Regions from separate parts of the Homo sapiens genome. Here region 2 is linked to region 1. The links are contacts of gene promoters, found by promoter capture Hi-C in blood cells and fetal thymus (Javierre and others, 2016). All regions are on one chromosome and are shown on one strand. Each heading gives the region's core, a stretch centred on a gene start or on the middle of the fragment in contact. The rest is flanking DNA. Distances are from core to core; before and after follow the strand shown. Region 1 holds the start of LAMA1 (laminin subunit alpha 1). Region 2 overlaps PTPRM (protein tyrosine phosphatase receptor type M).

Region 1 (3,204 bases), core at 56-2,555:
GGAGTATTCACTGAACTATATTGCATCCTTTTAAAACGGCCAAACTATCATTTTGTTCCATGATTTTTAAAAATTAATCGATGGCTAAGTACTATAACTAAGTTCTACTCACTAGATGTGTAAGGAAGTGTCCTCAGAAAAACAGGAATTGATAGAGTTGTCAAATAGATTCACACAAGTGAGAGGAAATTATCTTCCTATCAAGAAAAAAAAACCCTGCAAAATAAGATGGTGGGATGATAATGAGATATTGTCCCTGTATATTTATATTGAGAAAATGTGAAATCTACAAAGTGTTATGAATACCTTTTTTTTCTTTTTTGAGACAGAGTCTCGCTCTGTCGCCCAGGCTGGAGTGCAGCTGGTGTGATCTCAGCTCACTGCAACCTCCCACTCCCGGGTTCAAGCAATTCTCCTGCCTCAGCCTCCCAAGTAGCTGGGACTGCAAGCGCGTGCCACCACACCCAGCTAATTTTTGTATGTTTTTAGTAGAGACGAGGTTTCACCATGATGGCCAGGCTGGTTTCGAACTCCTGACCTCAAGTGATCCACCCGCCTCGGCCTCCCAAAGTGCTGGAATTACAGGCGTGAGCCACTGCACCCATCCAATACTTTTGATAGAAAAAAAAAATCAGAGGAAATTAAAAATTCTTTATCGGGGACCAGACATAGTTTTAAAATAATAATAATTATAATAACAGCAGTTGAAGTTGCGTGTCAGGAGCGCGTCCTCTCTCTCCAGCAGTAAGGGTATCTAATTATAATAATTAAGTCCAAGTGACCTTGCCTTCTTTAGGCAAACAAAGTCGGGAACAAGTTGCAACTCATTTTCAGAAAAAATCCTCAAGTCCTCTGCCCACGGCGGAAAGGGCGGCGGGTCGGCCGAGCCTGGGTGGCTTCCCGAGGGGTCGCCTCTCGCCCAGCTCCTGGCAGGGGCGCGTGGGTCCTGGCCCGGGGACTGCAGGGCCGCGGCGGGGCGGGCAGGGTCAGCTGGGCACATAGTTTCTCGGAATCCACCCTCCCGGACCCCCGCAGCCCAGTTTCTCCTCCCCTCAGCCCACCTTCTCTGCCCACCTCCTACCCGGAGCCGGGGAGGCGGCCGCGGTCAGCCCGGCCTCCCCGACTTGGGGTCCGCGTGCGCCGGGACCCAGAGGCCAAGCTGGGCGCCCCCGGGGGAGGGGTCTGGGTGGCGGGGCCAAGCCGGGGCGGGACGGGGCGGGGCGGGGCGCAGCCGAGGGGTGTGTCCGAGGGCGGCTGGAGGGAGGGGCGGCAGGACTCCAGGAGCGGCGGGGCCAGGGCAGCGCGGACTCGCGTCCCGTGGAGCGTTCCAGGCGGGCGCGCGGCTTTCTCCCCAGACCCACCGAGTGGCGGCGGAGGCGAGATGCGCGGGGGCGTGCTCCTGGTCTTGCTGCTGTGTGTCGCCGCGCAGTGCCGGCAGAGAGGTGAGCCCGGCCCGGGTCCTAGGGTCCCTGTCCCCCGCAGGCGGGCGGGCGGGGGCGGCCGCGGACAAAGCCCGTCGCGTTGGGGCTGCTGGAGTCCGGGCGCGCATCCTGATCCACCTCGGAGTGGGTGTCTCGGCCACGTGGGTCTCCCGCGCTTGCCGGGGAGGGCTGGATGGGGACGCCGCTCCTGCCGGACGCTGCCCGCTCTTTGCAGGCTTAGGCTTTAACCTCCTCGGGCTTTGGGGTTAAAGCCCAGCCTCGCCTCTGGCTTTTGCGGGACTTCGCGACCCAGGAGCGCCATCTACGCGAGCAGTGCTGGGGGTGGCGGGAGCGGGGCGCCCGGAGCGGGGCGCCGGGGGTTGCTTTTAGTGCCCCGGCTGCGCGGGCGGGGGTGGCGGGGCTGTTGGCCGGGCGCGGGGGATGAATGGAGAAAGAGCTCTCCCGAGTCGCCCTCATTGTCCGGCTGCGCAAGCTGGGTCGCGGCGGCCGGGAAAGGGCGGATTCCTCGGGGCCCCTGGCAGCCAAGCGGGCTAGTGGGGAGAGACGCGGCGAGAAGGGCGCCCCTAGCCAGCCGTCCCGGGCAGGGGGACCCGCAGGCGGCGTCCAGGGCACTGATGCGCCTTCCCGACCCGCGCTTTTTGTGCAATAGGCGAAGTGGCCAAACCCGCTCATTCACTGCGCGGGATTGACCGTGGGCGCGCCGGGGCGAGGGACCAGCGGAGAAGGGAGCACCTTGCATGCGCGTTGCAAGGATTGAGAAGAGAAACTCAGAGCGAATTTTCATTTTCTGTTTTTGCGGGCGGGCGGAAAGAGAGAGAGAGAGAAGAAAGAAAGAGAGAGAGAAAGAGAAAAGAAAGAGAGAGAAAGAAAGAAAAAGAAAGAAAGAATTCTTTTCCCTTTTGGGGGACAACCCTAGTCACCCACGCCACCCCTAGAGCTGTCTTCGCAGCGTGGCTTCGTGTTGGCTAGGCAGTCACAAATATTTGTTGAAAACATCTTAATGTATGCAGCACATGACAATGGGCGTATTCCCACGAATATAAACTTCATTAAAAAAAAATTCGAGTCAAAAGTAGTGGGCGGAATTTGCAGTGCCCTCGTGGGAAACGTGTGTTTGGGCATTGTGCTGAGTTGTGAGCTCTGCAGAAACGCGACCATCTCATTCATTCAAGCATTCATGATGGAAGCACTGGACCGGAGCTGGAAACGCAGCATTGAATAGCTGCGAGTCTGCTGCGCAGAGCCAGGCTGGGAAGAGGGAATTTACATAGTTATCAGCCAGAAGAAAGGAGCCTTTGGGGAGGGAGAGGAGCCTTAAAGGATTGCGAGGGGACTCCTGTCTATCAGGCTGCTGAAGGTGAACAAGTCCCGGTTTCCCACAGGGTAGAGAAAGAGCAGCTTGCCTCAGCTTATTGTTCCCCGAAATTGAAAGTCTTAGACTGAGGAGATGGCCTGAAGGTTGTCCTGGCCCCTCGGGGCTCGGCACTTGGCCTGGCGGTTATGAGTGGTTTTTGGAGAAAGTGGGACCTCATGGGGCTTTCCTGCTTTGAGATGCTGCGGAAAACCTCCCAGGGCAGGAGCCCTTTAATGTTTCATATCGCATTCCCTGTTTGCCTTTTTGCCTTCCGCACCCCACCAACCCTCACCCTTCCTAACTAGCCTCCTTGAGCAGTTTTGATTTTTTTTTTTTGCAGTCTCCGGGCTGCAGGCAGGAGTGGAGTGGCACCATCTCGGCTCACTGCGACCTCCGCCTCCCGGGTTC
Region 2 (3,208 bases), core at 565-3,064, 1.3 Mb before region 1:
ATATGGCCACCATAATTAAATGCAATATTCTGGATGTCAAACTAAAATTCACAGCTTTGATAAATATTAGGCGATTAAGCTATTTATAAAATATATAATTTGAAAATCTGGCATTTCACGTACTATGATTATTTCTTCTCTGTGAAGACTAAGTGCTTAGCCACATGGAAGGCACTGCCAGGAAGGGAAGTTAATAAGGATGTTCACTTGTGAGTTTCAGCTATTTCCGCATTTCGAATGAGCTGGAGACAAAGTCTCCGTGTGAAGAACAAAGAGAGGAAGAGGGAGAACAAGAAAGAAGAAAAAAGCCCTACAAGCAAAGTGATTACATTGTGATTTTGAAAATGAGTCTCTTCCTCTACGCATCAGTTTCCCTGCAAATCTGGGAGCTGGAGTGGATTCTAATGCTAATGGGGTGTCTCATGGAACAGCTCAGAGGGGGTGTCCTACCAGGAGGTCGACCATGTTGGGCTTGTTGTTCCTCAGTGTCTTCACAGCGTGAAAGACATCCACGGTTCTCTGGTGCCGGAGCATCTCACATACGATGCTGATGGCGCAGAACGTCCCACTGCGGCCTCCCCCGTTCCTGTCGTGAAAAAGATCAGATGACTGCACTCGGTCTGTCTTTACACTGCATCTTGCAAACACCTGTGGAAACAAGCTGTCTAAACCCTGGGGAACAGTAACAACAAAGGGCTCTGAGGCCGGGGGACCTCTTACCTGGGCAGATTCTTTTAATTAAAGCAAACAGAGCAAGCCATCCGCAGTGTTTGGCCACAGGTCACCTGACTGCAGAGCCTTTCCCAGCTCACCTCAGCCCTGGTCACATTCTCTGATACAGCAATTCATCGATAAGGGCCCATGGTAGAAAATTTTCAATGAACCTTATTTAGGTTCTGCCAGGAAAATTGCTGTGACAAGTACGGGTTACGTTCAAAGACGTATCTGGCCTTTAAAAACATCCATTAGCAGCTGGGCGCAGTGACTCACACCTGTAATCCCAGCACTTTGGGAGGCCAAGGTGGGTGGATCACGAGGTCAGGAGATCGAGACCTTCCTGGCTAAACACGGTGAAACCCCATCGCTACTAAAAAATACAAAAAAAATTAGCCGGGCGTGGTGGCGGGTGCTTGTAGTCCCAGCTACTCGGGAGGCTGAGGCAGGAGAATGGCGTGAACCCGGGAGGTGGAGCTTGCAGTGAGCCGAGATTGTGCTACTGCACTCCAGCCTGGGCAACAGAGCGAGACTCCCTCTCAAACAACAACAACAACAACAACAACAAATCCATTGGCATTTCATTATTTATCTATAAAACATAGAGGCTCTTTTTAAAGAAAACTTTTTACTATGAACCCATGTTAGATGTGCAGAAATGTAAAAATAGCATAGAGAATGCATATCCAACTTCCCTGATATGAACACCTTACTTGCCCACAGCGCATTATGCAAACCAAGAACGTGATGCTGGGACAATACTATTAACTAAACCACAGACTGTAGTCACATCTTACTAGTTCCTCCACGAATGTCCTTTTTCTGGTCCAGGATCCAGTCGTGCATGTAGTTGTCCTGTCTCCTTAGTTTCCTTCAGTCTTTCCTTGTATTTCCTGACCTTGACACTTTTGAAGAGCACTGATCAGTGATTTGTAGAATATAAAGAATGTAGAACACAGAAGTAGAAAGTAGCTGTCGTCCCCAGCCGCAATCTGAGAAGTCATCACAAACTATAACATGTAGACCATCCCTTCATTTGGGTTTGTCTGATGTCTTCTCATGACTGGAAACAAGGCCGTGCATTTCGGTAAGAAAACCAGAGAGGGGATGTTCCCTCCTCCCAGGGGTTCAGGATGTCCATCTGTCTTATTACTGGTGATGTTAACTTGCTCACTTGTTAAGATGGTGTCTGCCAGATTTTCTCACCATAAAGTTATCATCTTTCTCTTTGCAGTCAATAAATATCTGGGAGGAAGATATTTTGGGACTACGCAAATATTTTGTTTCTCGCCCACTGATTTGAGCATCCGTTGGTGGATCTTGTCTGCAACAATTAATTATCACTGTGGTGTTTGCCTAATGGTGATTTCCTGTTTCCCTCTCTTTCAACATTCTACACTAAGAAAGAGCTGTCTCTTCTTCCCTATTATTGTTTATTTATTTTATGATTTGTTTATTTCAGTGTGAGCTTATACATAATAATTTTATTCTATCAGCTAAAATCCAAGGGTACTAATATTGATTTTGTTCACATTGTTCCAGCTTTGGCCAGTGGGAGCTCCGTCAGGCTGGCTCTTTTGTTCTTTTCTGACAAGTCCCCAGCCTGTTTTATTTCTTTACTCTCTGCAACCACATAATGGTCCAGGCTCATCCCGCACTATCCCTGCATCAACTCTGCAGTCACTCTCTCCTCAAGGAGATAAGGGACCTTTTTTTTTTTTGAGATGGAGTCTCACTCTGTCACCCAGGCTGGAGTGCAGTGGCGCGATCTTGGCTCACTGCAAGCTCTGCCTCCTGGGTTCACGCCATTCTCCTGCCTCAGCCTCCCGAGTAGCTGGGACTACAGGCACCTGCCACCATGCCCGGCTAATTTTTTTGTATTTTTTTAGTAGAGATGGGGTTTCACCGTGTTAGCCAGGATAGTCTCAATCTCCTGACCTAGTGATCTGCCCGCCCCGGCCTCCCAAAGTGCTGGGATTACAGGTGTGAGCCACCGCGCCCGGCCATGGGACCTTTTTATTTTTAAACACAGTACACAGTATAACTATCATACCTAAAATAATAACATTACTGTTTTAAAATTATCAAATTTCTAGTCAGTGTTCCAGTTTCCCAGATTGTTTCTTACAGCTGCTTTTTTAAAAAATCCACTCTCAGATTGTTTCTTACAGATGCTTTTTAAAAAATCCACATCTAGGCAAAGTCCACAGATTGGATTTGGTTGGTATGTCTTGCAAATTTATTTTACTCTGTGAGTTCCTCTTTGCTCTCTCTTTTTTCTTGAGAATTTATTTGTTGAGGAAACAAGTTCATCTGTGTCCTGTAGAGAGTCCCACATCCTAGATTTTTCTCATTCATCACATCTCTGTGATATTATTTAATATGCTGCTTTCTAACTCTGTATTTCCTGTAAATCGGTAGGTAGTTCCAGGGCTTGGTAAGAATTCAAGATTGATTTATTTATACAAGGATACTTAAAGTATACTTTCATTAG

What was found. The method cuts DNA at HindIII sites, captures the fragments that hold promoters and counts their contacts. A CHiCAGO score of 5 or more calls a contact.
Region 2: a contact is called between a fragment that was not itself captured here and the fragment with the promoter of LAMA1 in region 1, in 1 of 17 cell types (M2 macrophages). The highest score is 5.1, in M2 macrophages.

What each region holds. Positions count from the first base shown.
Region 1 is chr18:7,115,898-7,119,101 of GRCh38, reverse strand. It overlaps LAMA1 (laminin subunit alpha 1), which reads left to right and starts at 1,305. Exons shown (of 63, transcript NM_005559.4): 1 at 1,305-1,442. The coding sequence starts at 1,382. The HindIII fragment of the contact is 7,316 bases long and covers 1-3,204 here.
Region 2 is chr18:8,391,854-8,395,061 of GRCh38, reverse strand. PTPRM (protein tyrosine phosphatase receptor type M) reads right to left here. Exons shown (of 33, transcript NM_001105244.2): 32 at 451-586. It overlaps LOC124904241 (a long non-coding RNA gene), which reads right to left and starts at 438. Exons shown (of 2, transcript XR_007066275.1): 1 at 1-438. The HindIII fragment of the contact is 3,901 bases long and covers 1-3,208 here.